4 separate regions of the Homo sapiens genome follow, and regions 2, 3 and 4 are each linked to region 1. Evidence: promoter capture Hi-C in 16 types of primary human blood cells and fetal thymus (Javierre and others, 2016). All regions are on one chromosome and are shown on one strand. Each heading gives the region's core, a stretch centred on a gene start or on the middle of the fragment in contact. The rest is flanking DNA. Distances are from core to core; before and after follow the strand shown.

Region 1 (3,626 bases), core at 849-3,348:
AGAGGAATATCAGACAACTTGGATTCCTCCCCCCAATAAGTTGGTTGCTACCCTCCTCCTTCAATTGAGGGTTTGTGCCCAGCCCTCTGCTTTGCATCAGACTGTCCCATGGTGGTGTAGTAAAGGGGGGCTTTAGTCAAGTAGGAAATTATCAGGGTGGGTGAAGAAGAGGGGGCATGGAGGTTGGCTGGGGGGTGGGGAGAAAGGGACAGGTGAAACCCCCAGAAATATGGTGCACTTAGGCAGGGTAGAGTGAATTTAAAGGAGGGGTGCAATTTCAGGGTCAGAAAGGAAGAGTCCCAGTCTGTGGCCAGGGAAAATAGACAGGAGCTGAGGTTGAGATGCAGGCTCTGGAGGCAGCAGGGTAGGAGTCTTCCCAGACCCGGCCACGCCTGCCCTTCTTTCCCTCTCCTGTCCCCAGGAGGGGACCAAACGCCAGGGGTAGGGGCGGGGGCTAGTTTTCTCCTGCGTCTCTATGGATCTTTCTCCTCTGGGGTGGAGAGGGGCTGGGGAGAGTGTGTATAGTATGTGTGTTCCGGGGGGAGGAAAGTTAGGGGGAGACAGCTGCAGCTGGCAGCACCGACCCCAGCTCCATAGGCCCCCTCCCAAGTCTCTGCTCCTCCCCCTCTCTGGCTCTTTCCTTTTCCTTTTTGGTCTAAGGGGGCGGCTTAACGGGGCTGGGATTTCAACTCATGGGGGAGGATGAGGGATGTGTTTGGTTGGGGAGAGGCGACTTGGGGGTTCAGCTCCTTGGCGCCACTGTCTTCCCCTCCCTTGAGCTGGACTGAGCTGGGAAGCCCAACTTACAACAAGAAACAGAATATCTCTTTGGCCTTGATGGAGTTGGGTTAGCTGTCAATCAAAAAATCTCCCTCACTAGTTCAAGGAAAAGACAGGAGGTTCCAGTCCCCCTGCCGAGGCTTTCTCCAAATCCCCAGTACAGCCAGCACCTCCCCCAGCCCAGGGCGGCTGAGGACCGGGCCCGGCACTTGGGCGGCTGCTGGCAGCGATGAGCAGAGACGTTTAGCCCTCAGCGGGGCCCGGGGCCAGACTGAGACCAAGAGGACATCAGGGGACAGAGCCTGAGAGAGACTGAACCCGAGACAGCCTGGGACAGACCAACTGAAACATGGAGTCAGGCCCAAGAGAGGAAAGAAGGAAGCGGAGCATTAGAATAAAGGGAAAAAAGGGGGAGAATTAAAAGAAGGAAGGCAAGATGAAAAGAGATAGGAGAGCCGGGAAAGGCAGGCGTGCAGAGAGGGAGGCGGAGGAAGGGCGGCCGTAGGCAGGCAGGACGGGGCAGGGGCGAGCTGGCGGAGCAGCCGTGGCATTGTGCAGCCCGCTGGCTTGCCGGGCCTTTGCCGCGGGACCGGCTCCGGGCGCGGCGGCCACTTCTGTCTGGACACAAAGGCGGAAGAGGGCTCCTCTCCTGCCCCTCCCAGGAGACTTGCTCGGATGGGTACTCTAGGCCTCAGGGATATAGAACCCCATATTGGTCCAGACAGCCGCTTAGGCAGCTGGGGGCTGAGCCCTGCTCTATTCAAGGAGCGAAGAAACAGAAGAGGAAAGAGGTTTCACCCCTGCTCTTCCTTTGCGTCTTCTCCAAGCGACAAGGCCAGCTGCCCCAGCCTCAGCTTTCCTGGAGGAAAGAGTCCCTAAGGAGCCTCCCCTATGGGCCTCTGCTATTTGGGAGAGTTCCTCAAATAGACATTGGGGCCGTAAAGAGATGCCCCCTTCTCTCCTACCCCCTTTGAACACCGCCTTCTTTTCAACTCTTGAGCTGCCTGCGCACCCTGCCTGCCCACTCTGCGGAGGCGGCAGCAGCGGGCAGTGAGGCTCACCGGCGGGATCCCTGCTGCCGTGAAATCCCCTGTGAAACCAAGGAGATTGTCGCTTTCCTTTATTTTATTTTATTTTCTGGGACTATGACCTCCGAACTCTTCCCACTCAGAGGCAGGCACGGCTGTGGATCAGGAAGCAGGCCTCGCCCACAGCCCCTTCCCAGCCAATGCCTCATTTTCCCTGCGCCCTTCGGAGAGAGGCGGCCTTGGGGAGGGGGGCTAGAAGAGGCTGGGAGTTCCGGAGTCCACTGGGCGGAGGTTCCGCAGGTCCACAACTGCATGTGGCCTGTAGCCCCCATTCTCCACATTTGGAGGGGTGTGGGTGGCAGACCAGGGCTTTGAAGCGGACCTGCAGATTTCCCTCAAATCCAGGTTTGTAGGTGCGGGGGGCGGGGCACAAAGGATATAGGGGCACCAAGAAGGAAGGTCTGTCTTCCTGGGGTTCAGTTACTCCTTCTGAATCTTCTGCCATACTCCAGACTTCCCCTCACCCACATACTCCCTTCAATTTTCCTCAGCACCGCTGGGGCAAACCCAGGGACTGGAGGCCACTGGGAGTTCTTGTTGGGGAGGGGGAAACCCCAGCTTTAGCTCGCAGCTGTGCATTCACTCTGGTTCTTAGAGTTCCCTCCCACCCCCAAAAGACTTCACTGGGCACAGGAGAGACCCCTGAGGGGGAGGGGCACCCTTACTCCATCACCTGAAACCTGGGCAGCTGCGGCCACAACCAAACTAGCACCGTGGGAAGGACAGACAGAAAGATAGACAGGTTAGAGTCGTCCCCTCCCCCTGCCCCGCGCCTTCCTTTTAGTGATTTAAATTCCCTCCGGTTCAATCCACACCGTCAAGTTCGGATTAAATTTAAAACAGGCTTTCTCCGGTGTCCCCAGCGGGCCATCCCGGCTGCCGCAGGCAGGGAGCCCGCTCCCGGCTCGTCAGCACCCGCCCTGCGCGGAGAAGGCCGTACTCCATTTGCTTTCATTTTCCTTCTCCCCCTGAAATGGGCTCATTTCACCTCTCCACTGCCCTCTTCCCCTCCCCGCCCCCTCCCTGGTTCCCCTCTACTTTCCCCCCTTCTCTCTCCTGATCCCTCTTTGTTGGGAAAAACACACCCACACACAACTCCTCCTAGCTAAGGCCTGCGCTGGAAGCAGAAACTGAGTTCTCTTGGCCTGCCGCGAGGAAACCCGCGTCCTGCCCCCACCCAAGGTGGGTATCTGGGATCCCTACACACCAGGAGTCAGGTCCCGAGGCCCAGCAGGAGTGAAATCCCCAGGGCCTGTGAACGTGGCTCTCTCAAAGCCACGGCCTGCCGGGCCTGCATTCCCGCCGGCGCCCCCGCCCTGACGCTCCGCAGCAAGCGGGGCTATTTCCGGCTCCCCCAACGCGGTCTGGTTTTCCAGCCTGGGAGTGGCTGGAGGGGGAGCCGCCCCAGAGCTAGAGCCGCTCCCTGCCCTGCCCGGAGCCCCAGTGGCCCTGAGCGCCTTGTTACCTGATCTTTTGTGTGATGTATGTGTCGCAAGGAAATTTGCAGTGACTTTGGAGCCCAGACTGAGGAAGCGGAGGTGGCGAAAGGAGAGACAATACGAGCCCGAAGTACAATTAAGGGGCCAGAGCCGCTCGTCTCTCCCCCGCCCTCCCTGCCCGACTGCGAGCTGTCTGGCCTCAAACCTCAGGGCGACACGCGAACCTGGAGCCGGAAACTCAGCCCGTGGCAGAGGGAGTCAGAGGACTCTGCATCCAGAAAACAGAAGCAAAGCGCCCTTCCAACTTGGGGACGCCTTA
Region 2 (3,452 bases), core at 391-2,890, 160 kb before region 1:
CCAGGCTTGGAGGCAGGCAGCATTCCCTGAACTGCCCTAGGGTGAGGAGGGTGTGGGGGCACTAACCTGGGGTGTGGAGTGCGAGGAGTGCTTCTGGAAGGTTGACAGAGGGAGAAAGTGCATCATAAGTGACTTGGGAAACTGGGATAGGATATTAAATGAATGACCTTTCTCCAAGGCCATCCCACAGAGGGCAAGATTCAGGTTAAATATCAAGGCAAACTTCCTGGCAGCCAGGGATAAGTGCACTTGAGCAAAAGACAGAAAGGTGGAGATAGAGGTTTGGAAAGCTTTTTATAAGATGAATCAGATCATCATTTTCCTGTCTGGTGGGTGGCTCGTGGCAAATAGCTGCAGAAGTAGGCTGGAGTTAGAGTAGGAGGGCTGGAGGTAGAACTTGGAATGATTTGTTGGAGCGGTGGGTTGGGTGACACTGAACTGGACGCTTGAGGAGGTTGTGACACATCAGTGTGGGAGGCTCCAGGTCTGGCCTGGCTTGGGGAGGGATGAGGAAGACCCCAGGATTGTAAAGATGATGGAACTCCTCCAGACTTCTCCCCGGGGGCACTGAGGTGTTAGGGGGCAGAGGCATGTATTCAACAACACCCCAGTGCAATGGGATGCCTGGTGGGTGTGAGTGCCCCTGGCTGGAGGCAGGCAAACAGGTGGTTTGGGAATGGGACCACTACAAGATTTCTTCTGATTCTGAGATCCTAGGAATCCCAAAATTAGGATTCTGCAGGTTTCAAGAAGGGAAAGTAGGGAAGGGTTGGGCACAGAGCTGGTGAGTAGCACCAGGCATTTTGGCTGCCAGCCCCCTTCTCCTGGTGGTAGGGGCTATGATGATGTGGCTATGATAATTGCTATCCTTATTAAATGATATTGCAACTCACAGTAATGACAACTCCACCAGGATTCATTGCTCATAGTCCTCCCATTTTGGGGGATCTCTTGGCTGAGGAAGAGGGGGAAGGGGACCTTGAGTCCCTTTCCACCCCCGGTCCCAAAAGGAGGACAAAATAAACCAGTTGTCCAGGTAAGCAGACCTTGAGGGGTCAGTCAGTGTGGATAGAGAGGAAGGGAGTTGGGGGGAAGGCAGCAGGAAGGCTCCTCATGTTCCAGTGAGTCCTTTTTTTTTTTTGAGATGGATTCTCACTCTGTCGCCCAGGCTGGAGTGCAGTGGCCCAATCTCGGCTCACTGCAACTTCTGCCTCCTGGGTTCAAGTGATTCTCCTGCCTCAGCTTCCTGAGTAGCTGAGATTACAGCCTGCCACCACGCCCAGCTAATTTTCGTATTTTTAGTAGAGATGGGATTTCATCATGTTGGCCAGGATGGTCTCAAACTCCCGACCTCAGGTGATCCGCTCACCTCAGCCTCCCAAAGTACTGGGATTACAGGCATGAACCACTGCACCCAGCTCCAGTAAGTCCTTTTCTGAATGGTCCCCTGCCAATCTTTATTTGTCTCCCAGGGCATTTTTCCCAATCACCCCCACCCCTGGGTTTACGTGGATTGCAAATTGTTGGGCTGTCCTCAGCAGCAGTGCCCCCTCATTCCCCCCCACCTGACTCCTCACTGTCCTCCTAAGCTCATCAGGCTGTGGGGTGGACCCTCCCTCACCCTTGTCCTTTATAGTGCCCTGGGTGCCCTTCTCTATTGGCATGAGTCTTGAGGGAAAAGGTTAGGTAAGAGGTTGCTTACTGTGCTCCCTGGTGTGTGTGCGCGTGTCTCTGCTTCTAGGACAGTTTCTTCATGTGCGTGCTGGGGTTCAGGGTACACAGACTGTGTGGGGAGGCAGCTATGCTTTTGCCCATTCAGGGTGGTTATGAAAGGGAGACAGAAGGGGTGGGGATCTGGTGATCCATCATCTCCCCACCAGGGCAGACTGGAGCAGTTTTGTGAAACCAGGCTTTCCTGGTCTTAGCACTACACTTGTGTGTGTGCGTACACACACATACACACACACTCACACCACAGTCACCCCAAGAGGCAACCCACAGATGCATTGACATGCTTGATGCCTCAGGTTTTTTCCAAGGAAGTCTGCCCTGTAAGCTGCTCCCTAATTTATTACCCTACTTTATTAGAGTAAATTTCCTAGTAAGTCCCTTTGCATGGATCCCCCGTCACCCCAGACAGAAACCTTCCATAACTCCCCAGTGCCCATGGAGTGAAGCTCAGGCCCTCTAGCCGGCACTCAGGTTCTTCTCTGGTCTGTCTATTCCCAACCTGCCTTTCCAGCCTTGTCTCCCATAATCCTCCAGCAGGAGTGTCTTCCCCAAGAGGACTATTCCTGTGCACTTACATTTCCTCCCGCCTGGATCACCAGAGCGAGTGCCCTCCTCCCACTCACACCTCTAATCATTTTTTAGGCCCACCCCCTCCAGGTGGCCTTTTTGACTTCCCCAGCTTAGAGCAACTTCTTTCTTAGCATGTGGTCCTTGGCATCTGGAGGATGTCTTTCTACAGGCTGGGTCGGGGGAGCCTGTCTCCTCACTTCTGAGCCTCTCAAGGCAGGGCCTGTACTCATTCATCTTTATTTCCCTGGTGCCTAATATGGTGTCTGACATCTGTGTATGTAAATAGTTGAGAACCTGGCTCTAGGAAAGAGCAGCCTTCTGAATTGGTTTAAGTCCCTGCCCTGATTCTTCTGGCTCTGTGACCCTAAGCAAGCAGCTTCCCTTCTCTGGGCATCAGTTCCCTAATTGCACCATGGGGAGGTTGGACCTCCTTACTCTGAGATTCTGTTTTTGTGGTGGTGAGAATGGAGACTATCAGCCAGATGTAAATAGATGCATAGGTAGCCCCTTACAACACAGCAGGTGAGGAGGCTGGGGGGTGGTAACTAGATAAATGGCCAGGCCCATTTGATCTGTAGCCCATGTGATCTGGGCTACTTCCTTTGCCTCTTGCACCCTCTATTTATTGATATGAAAAATGGGATTGACGTTACAAGATTCCTTTGGACTTTAGGTAGGCAGAAGCTTAATTCACACACAGTACACAGAAGGACTTATTTGGAGAATTGTGTCTGGGGCCCCTCTCCCTTCTCATTTCTTCCCTAATGGTCTCTGCTCTGTTTCTTTTCCTCTTGATAATTGCCTGGGAGAACCTGTACTCACCTCCCTTCACATCAGCCCCAGTGGCTTGGTATCAGGCCTGAGTGCAGTCCCTGACTGGTAGTCTACGGGTGGGTCTGGGCTGCAGAATGCCTCAGTGAGCCTCCAGGCAGCTCCTCTGGTGGAGTCTCCTTTGCAAATGTTGTTGCTGCTTCAGGAACCACAGGATTTCCCACCACCCCAGATTCCCATATTCCTGACTCCTCTGCCTCCCACACATCCTGCCTTCTATCTGACCCTGACCTTGGGGGTCTCTCCCAGCCTGAGAAATGTCCCACTTGCCTCATTACCCTTCCCTGGGAATACTGAGGCTGGAATTGTCCGTGGAGGCC
Region 3 (3,978 bases), core at 752-3,251, 140 kb before region 1:
AGGCAGGAAAGCTGTGATGAGGGGCTCCAGCCTTTCAGGCTGGGGGCTGGGGAGAGAGGGGACAGGTGGGCCTTCTGAAACGTGCCTACATCAAAGGTTTGAGTACCCTCCCTTCCAAGCTTTGGCGCCTCCGGCGGGGAGGAAAGCAGTGATTTCACCACATAACTGCACGTAGGGCGGATCTCAGTCTGAGAACTTCTGGGGAATGTGGAGAGGGGAGGGACGGTGCTTCCCAGAGGGGAGGAAAGGGCAAGGAGGGTTCTCGCTTCCAAAATAGCCTACCCAGGCCAAGGAAAACGGGGCCATATGCAGCCTCCCTCCTGCTCTGGCCTCTGTGGAGGGAAAGCTGAGGGGAGGGTGCATTCTTCCAAGGGGGGAGGAGGAGCAGCTATAGCAGGAGGAGGGCAGGAGCCAGATCACAGATGGAGAGCGGTGGGGAACAGGGGCATCTTCCACACACAGGGGCATGAAAGAGGAAGGCTGTAGGGTATGTGAATTCCAGGAGACAGTAGGCGCTCCCCTCCCTGTTCCCCAGGCTCTGTCCTGTCTCAGGAATCATAGAGTGTCTGGTCATGATGCTGGCAGGGTGGGATCGACTGTGGGGCACATGGGTTAGGGAGGCACCCCATATCTGGCTGGAATCCCAGTTCAGATTTGGATCATTTGAGGATGAGTGAGAGTCGGTTGGGGTGTTGACACCCCACTGTAACCTTAGTTTAAGAAGCTAAGGATTTATTGTTGGGGTGGAAGGTCACCTTCAGTTGGGAGGAGTGTAGGGAGAAAAAAGGGGCACCATTTGCATATAATTTTGCTTATAGTTTCCATACTCCTCCCCTTCAGGGAGACTTCCATGACCCTTTCCTTTCCCTTCCCAGGGAGGTTTAGGTGTGTGCATGGTGCTCCCCCGGTGCCCTAGGTGTACCTATAGTCTTGGTTCTTTTCACCTTGCTTTGTAAAGATCCGTGGTTTCTTTCCCCATCCAGACTGTCGGTGCCTTGATGACATGGACCTCCTTGTTCTTCTCTGTGTTCCTAGTTCCCAGCACAGTGCCTGGCAGCGAGCAGGTGCTCGGTGATGCTACCCTGCTGCTGCTGGAGCCCATTCCTCCCATGACCAATGTTCTGGGGGAAACAAAGGACAACCCGTAGGATGGTTCTTTAGCAGCCTGGAGGCCTCTGATGGGCTCTCAGCCTTTCTAAAACTGCAAGGATAGCTCCTATCTGACCGCCTCTGGGAGTCTCCTGGGAGGACCCTCAGTGACAGCACTTTCTTCTGCCCCTGAAACTTATTGCCCATAAGGCTCACCTTCATGGTCAGATATTTATTTATTAGAGACAGGGTCTTGCTTGCTCTGTCGCCCAGGCTGGAGTGCAGTGGTACAATCACAGCTCACTGCAACCTCTAGTGGGCTCAAGTGATCCTCCTGCCTCAGCCTCCCGTAGCTAGGACTACAGGCACTCACCATCACACTCAGCTAATTCTTTTTTCTTTTTGTTGAGACTGACTCTTGCTCTGTCACCCAGGCTGGGGTGCAGTGGCATGGTCTCGGCTCACTGCAACCTCTGCCTCCTGGGTTCAAGCGATTCTCCTGCCTCAGCCTCCCGAGTAGCTGGGACTAGGATTACAGGTGCCCACCACCATGCCTGGCTAATTTTTGTATTTTTAGTAGAGATGAGGTTTCACCATTTTGGTCAGGCTAGTCTCAAACTCCTGACCTCAAGTGATCCACCCACCTCAGCCTCCCAAAGTGCTGGGATTACATGCATGAGCTACCACACCCCACTAATTTTTAAAATTTCTTTTGTAGAAACAGGGTCTCGCTGCGTTGCCAAGGTTAGTCTCAAACTTTTGGCCTCAAGAGAGCCTCCTACTTTGGCCTCCCAAAGTACTGGGATTGCAGGTATAAGCCACCAGGCATGGCCCCTATTCTTATTTTTAAATCTGGGATGGATGTATCTCTTTTTTGTCACATGAGACCAAATGCTCTTTGGGGCCAGACTACCCATACTGTTTCTATGGCCCACAGTGCCTAGCATGAAGGAAGACTTCAGTCAAGACAGGTTGGCTGTGGACCAGCTGACCCTCTCTGTGAGTGCTGGTGCCTCCACGTGGTAGCTTTGTCTGGGGCTCTGAGGGCTGAGCTTCCATGAGCTGTTGAGTCAGGGATGTTCTGACATAAGGGGGTGAGTAGGACACATTAGAAGCTCCTGTCCTGGTGACACACGGCCTGAAGGGCCCTGTCAGCTGAGAGAATCAGTGCTCAAGGGGAATGTTGTGGAGATTACAGCGGTCAGAGGGTTTTATTCAGAGTCTCTGGGAGAGGAAAATAAGAAAGGACATGAGAGAAGGGGAAGGAAGGGCTAGGCAGAGGATGAAGGGGGATGTGCATGTGGGATAAACTTGACAGAGGGTGAGCAGGCAAAACAGCTTTGCCTGCTAGGGAAGACCCAAGTGTGAGCCTGGCAGGCCTTGTGTCTAGGAGGGACCTGGGCGATTGTAAACAATATACTATGCTCTGAAGATTGTACCCACCCCTCCAGTCCCCACTCCTATCCCTTCCCAAGATGGGGTCTTTGGTCTCACTGTGATTTCTAGGCCTAGCCTGAACTGTGCTGGGGTGACACCACCCAACACCAAGCTCAGATCAAACCAGCTTTGCTTCATACCCTTGGGGGCCTCCCTGAGGCTGGAGGGGACTTTGAAGTTGATGGAGAGAAGATTGGTGAGCTGTGTGCTAAGCAGGGATCTCTCAGCAGTCAATGAGGTGGAGAGGATCTCCACTCCCTTTTTTGGGGGGCTGAGATATTGATACCCTAGTTTTCAAAACCTAGGTTTTTCATCCTTGAATGCTGCCTAAGGCTGACTTGATCACCAGGTATCTCTGGGTGGTAGGGTGTGGCAGCATTGCTGAGCTCCAGAGAGCGCCATTCACTGAATTCCTGGAGCACAACTCTAGGTGGTGCCATTCACATAGAATTCAATGTGTAAGATGCCCCCCTCTCCCCTGAGGAGCTGTGCAACTATGGGTCACCATGATGCCCTTTTTGGGTCAGGGTTCTGTTTAGAAGCCCAAGCTGGCCAACATGAGAACTAGCAATATTCAAGTGAGACTTTGCCCAGAGACAGAGAGAGATGGACAAAATGATTTCCGAAGTTAAGTCTTCATGAAAGTGGTATCAGGAATGGAAGCTGTCTCCCAGAGTAACAGGACCATGGAGCAGTGCGTGGTCTTGGGCTAGATTAGAAATGACAAAAGTCCATCATCAGGGAAGGAAAACAGTCTTAAAATCCCTGGATTGGAAAGGATAACCCATATGTAAGCACCTAGTGGGGCCTGGCATTTAATAGGTAGGCAATTAATGCGAGGTGAGGCAGTAGCTCATGCCTATAATCCCAATACTTTGGGAGGCTGAGGTGGGAGGATTGCTTGAGGCCAGGAGTTTGAGACCAGCCTGGACAACATAGGGAGACCCCATCTCTACAAAAAATAAAAAATAAATTAGCCAGGCATGATGGTGTGTGCCTGTAGTCCCAGCTACTTGGGAGGCTGAGGTGGAGGATTACTTGAGCCCAGGAGGTCAAGGCTGAAGTGAGCCATGATCGTGCTACTGCACTCCAGCCTGGGTGGCAGAGCAAGACCCTGCCTCAAAGAAAACTCCCCCAAACGAACGAACAAACAAACAACCAACGATAACAACGAGGTGAAACAGAAGCAGAGTCTACACTCCAGTCTCTAGGTTTGCGGATCTTAGAGGCAGAATGGCCTAGCCACGATGGCTACACTTGCGCATGGGAACTCGCTGAAATCAGAAATGGGAACCCGACCTAGATAGAGGTCAGGAATTTGTTTTCTTCTTTTTTCTCCTTCTTAGGGAAAGCTTAGTCCGTTGTTTAGGATGAAAAATAACAACCAGATGAACGAAAGAAGGATCATCAGGAATGATGAGTAATGTGCTCCAGATGTGGCTATGGAGAACT
Region 4 (3,838 bases), core at 107-2,606, 250 kb before region 1:
TTTTTTGAGACGGAGTCTCGCTCTGTCGCACAGGCCGGACTGCGGACTGCAGTGGCGCAATCTCGGCTCACTGCAAGCTCTGCCTCCCGGGTTCACGCCATTCTCCTGCCTCAGCCTCCCGAGTAGCTGGGACTACAGGCGCCCGCCACCGCGCCCGGCTAATTTTTTGTATTTTTAGTAGAGACGGGGTTTCACCTTGTTAGCCAGGATGGTCTCGATCTCCTGACCTCATGATCCACCCGCCTCGGCCTCCCAAAGTGCTGGGATTACAGGCGTGAGCCACCGCGCCCGGCCCCGGCCCTTTCTTTTGTTCCAGTGATAGCATTTGTTTTCAATCCTTGATAATCTTTTTTTTGCAGTGAAAATCATATAATATACAATTAAATATTTTATTTATTTATTTATTTTGAGACAGAGTCTTGTTCTGTCACTCAGGCTGGAGTGCATGGGCGTGATCTCGGCTTACTGCACCCTCACCTCCTGGGTTCAAGTGATTCTCCTGTTTCAGCCTTCTGAGTAGTTGGGATTACAGGCATGTGCCACCATAGCCAGATAATTTTTGTATTTTTATTTTTATTTTTTATTTATTTTTTTGAGACGGAGTTTCACTCTTGTTGCCCAGGCTGGAGTTCAATGGCATGATCTTGGCTCACTGCACCCTCCATCTCCTGGGTTCAAGTGATTCTTCTGCCTCAGCCTTCCAGAGTAGTTGGGATTACAGACATGCACCACCATGCCCAGCTAATTTTGTATTTTTAGTAGAGAGGGTGTTTCTCCATGTTGGTCAGGGTGGTCTTGAACTCCCTAACTCAGGTGATCCACCTGCCTTGGCCTCCCAAAGTGTTGGGATTACAGGTGTGAGCCACCATGCCTGGCTCAATTAACAATTTTAAAATGTACAGTTCAGTGGCATTTATATTCTCTTGATCTATTATTTCTACATACTTGGCGTACAAAATTAATTTTTGTCTTTTGAATCTTCTTCAGTTTGGGAAGTGTATTTATGAAATTTTGGTTTGATTTAGTTGCTTTAATCCTTCTGATCTTTAGCTCTCAAGTAAGTAGCATAAGCACTGTTATTGCCTCTCTCTCTTTTCATCTGTGTGTGGGCGCATAAATACACACACTCTACCACCTCCTCCCGCCCCCAGCTTCCATTCCTTTTATTTATTTCAAGGTTATGAAGCCTTTTGTGGTGAAGGATGTATCATACACTTTACATTTCATAAAAGCGTAAGTCTACTTCGGAATCTTCCAGCCTTCCAGAGTAGCTGCCACAATCATCCCTATGTATCTTCATTCTAATTAGATTTATACCTTTCTAGAGCATTAGTTCTCAATGCTACACATTATAATCACCTGGGGGGTACGTTAAAAAAAAAAAAAAATCTCCAGTGCCTAAGATGCACCCCAGACCAGTAAAATTAGAATTTTTTTTTTTTCTTTTTTTTTTGAGACATAGTCTCACTCTGTTGCCCAGGCTGGAGTGCAGTGGCACAATCTCACTGCAACCTCTGCCTCCTGGGTTCAAGCGATTCTCCTGCTTCACCCTCCCTAGTAGCTGGGACTACAGGCACATGCCACCATGCCTGGCTAATTTTTTGTATTTTTAGTAGAGATGGGGTTTCACCGTGTTAGCCAGAATGGTCTCAATCTCCTGACCTCGTTATCCGCCCATCTTGGCCTCTCAAAGTGCTGTGATTACAGGCATGAGCCACCACACCTGGCCTCTGTCATTTTTAAAAAGGAGCAGTCTGAATAATCTGGCTTGGAGCCACTGGCCAGTGCACAGAGTTTTGTTCCTAGGCCAGGTTCTGAAGCTGCCGACCTTGAAAACAACCCCCACATGTCCCTTACATCATAATGTTCATCTGGGACCCCTGATAGCATTCTTAGCAGTACTGGCTGCTGTCAGGTAGACAGCTGGAAAGATAGGTGATTGTATGTTTTAAAGGTATAGGAGGGGATTGTGTTTATTTCTTAAGACCACTGGAGAAGAAATTTGTTAGTTTGCATTATGCCTGATTTAAGATTACTGCCTGTATGATGATTTTAGCATTTTCTTCGCCCTGGCTCCTTTTCAGCAGCTTGAACGTTTTTCTTCCATTCGCCTCCTCTTCCCTCCCTATGTAGCAAACTGTTTTCAGTTGCCAGTTATGATTTACAACTTAGTCCATGCACCAGCATTCCAGCTGTGAGCAGCTGTGTGCACATCTGGGAACTTCTTCCCCTTAAGCACCCCCAAAAGAGGCTATGTTTTTAAAAGTCAGTATCTCTCATTGATCCACGCGTGGAATGTCCTTCCAATTGTGAATTTTGGTATCTTTGGGGACCACCCGGACCCCAAATGCTTTGTATGTCTCAGAGGAAAGCAGGTGAACATAAGATCAAAGAGATTTTATTATGAAAATCGGGCAGTAGAGATTTAGTTCATTTGGGCATCTCTAAATCTTTTTTTTGTGTGTGTGTTGCCACTAGAGAGGCTAGCATTATCTTCCATAATAAAGTTTTTTCAAATTACCTAGTTTGGGCCGGGTGCGGTGGCTCACGCCTGTAATCCCAGCACTTTGGGAGGCTGAGGCGTGTGGATCACTTGAGGCCAGGAGTTCAAGACCAGTGTGGTCAACATGGTGAAACCCTGTCTCGACTAAAAATACAAAAAATTAGCCAGGCGTAGCCGGGTGTGATGGCTCACATCTGTAATCTCAGCACTTTGGGAGGCCGAGGCAGGGTGGATCACCTGAGGCTAGGAGTTTGAGACCAGCCTGGCCAAAATGGTGAGACCCCTGTCTCTACTAAAAATGGAAAAATTAGCCAGGTGCGGTGGCACGCACCTGTAATCCCAACTACTCAGGAGGCTAAGGCAGGAGAATCGCTTGAATCTAGGAGGCAGAGGTTGCAGTGAGCTGAGATTGTGGCACTGCACTCCAGCCTGGGCAACAGAGCAAGACTCTGTCTCAAAAAAAAAAAAAAAAAATTAGCCAGGGGTGGTAGCAGGCACCTATAATCCCAGCTACTCAGGAAACTGAGGCAGGAGAATCACTTGAACCTGGAAGGTGGAGGTTGCAGTGAGCTGAGATTGCGCCACTGCACTTTAACCTAGGCAACAGAGGGAGACTGTCTAAAAAAAAAAATTACCTGGCTTGTATAAAATTTTGCTTTTTGGCTCTCATCAGTGTTACTACACATGGATTTGAACCTGTGCTCCTTGTCTAGATTGTATTACTACATTTAGACCAAGTTTCAATACTCATCTCATGAATTATCAAATTTTTTCTCTCTCTTAAGAGACAGGTTCTCACTATGTTGCCCACCATGGAGCACAGTGGCGTGATCATAGCTCACTGCAGGCTTGAACTCCTGGGCCCAAGGGATCCTCCCACCTCAGCCTCCTGAGTCGGAGTAGCACACTTCAAGTGTGCATCACTGTGCCCAGCTAATTTGCAGAGACAGTTGCCCATGTTGGTCTCCAATTCCTAGTCTCAAGCAATCCTCCTATGTCAGCCTCCCAAAGTGCTGGGATTACAGGCATGAGTCACTGCACCAGGCCAGTTTTTTGTTTTTGTTTTCTTTTTTGTTTGTTTTTGTTTTCAGTCACAGTCCGGTTCTACCTTCTAATGCTAACAGTCATCTACATCCAGAGGGGATAGGCACTGACCAGGGCCTTCTCTCTAACCAAGCATATAGGTATTGGTGTTTATGATCTCTGAAATTTTGCTATTTAATAGTATTGGCCTTACATAATTCTTACCTCTATTCTTCCATAAACACAGGTGACTGTGAAATGTGTCAAAATTATTGTTTAGTGTTAAGGTAAACTAAAAGTCTAAAAAAATAA

What was found. Contacts are between HindIII fragments. The CHiCAGO score rates a contact against its expected background, and 5 or more counts as called.
Region 2: a fragment that was not itself captured here is called in contact with the fragment with the promoter of HOXC-AS2 in region 1 in 11 of 17 cell types (naive CD4 T cells, naive CD8 T cells, total CD8 T cells and 8 more); the score reaches 11.2 in naive CD4 T cells.
Region 3: a fragment that was not itself captured here is called in contact with the fragment with the promoter of HOXC-AS2 in region 1 in 9 of 17 cell types (naive CD8 T cells, naive CD4 T cells, total CD8 T cells and 6 more); the score reaches 10.2 in naive CD8 T cells.
Region 4: a contact is called between a fragment that was not itself captured here and the fragment with the promoter of HOXC-AS2 in region 1, in 8 of 17 cell types (naive CD8 T cells, total B cells, naive B cells and 5 more). The highest score is 9.9, in naive CD8 T cells.

What each region holds. Positions count from the first base shown.
Region 1 is chr12:53,995,257-53,998,882 of GRCh38, reverse strand. It overlaps HOXC-AS2 (HOXC cluster antisense RNA 2), which reads left to right and starts at 2,098. Exons shown (of 3, transcript NR_047505.1): 1 at 2,098-2,213; 2 at 2,974-3,050; 3 at 3,365-3,626. RefSeq lists an enhancer at 3,098-3,626. The HindIII fragment of the contact is 15,520 bases long and covers 1-3,626 here.
Region 2 is chr12:54,155,681-54,159,132 of GRCh38, reverse strand. It overlaps a transcript of SMUG1 not described here. Among named protein-coding and RNA genes, the nearest start is that of SMUG1-AS1, 15 kb to the right of the region's middle. The HindIII fragment of the contact is 2,695 bases long and covers 293-2,987 here.
Region 3 is chr12:54,137,389-54,141,366 of GRCh38, reverse strand. No RefSeq gene overlaps it. Among named protein-coding and RNA genes, the nearest start is that of SMUG1-AS1, 3.2 kb to the left of the region's middle. The HindIII fragment of the contact is 3,759 bases long and covers 122-3,880 here.
Region 4 is chr12:54,246,980-54,250,817 of GRCh38, reverse strand. All of the region lies in intron 3 of CBX5 (chromobox 5), which reads left to right. Among named protein-coding and RNA genes, the nearest start is that of SCAT2, 14 kb to the left of the region's middle. RefSeq lists a silencer at 1,613-1,812. The HindIII fragment of the contact is 5,143 bases long and covers 1-3,838 here.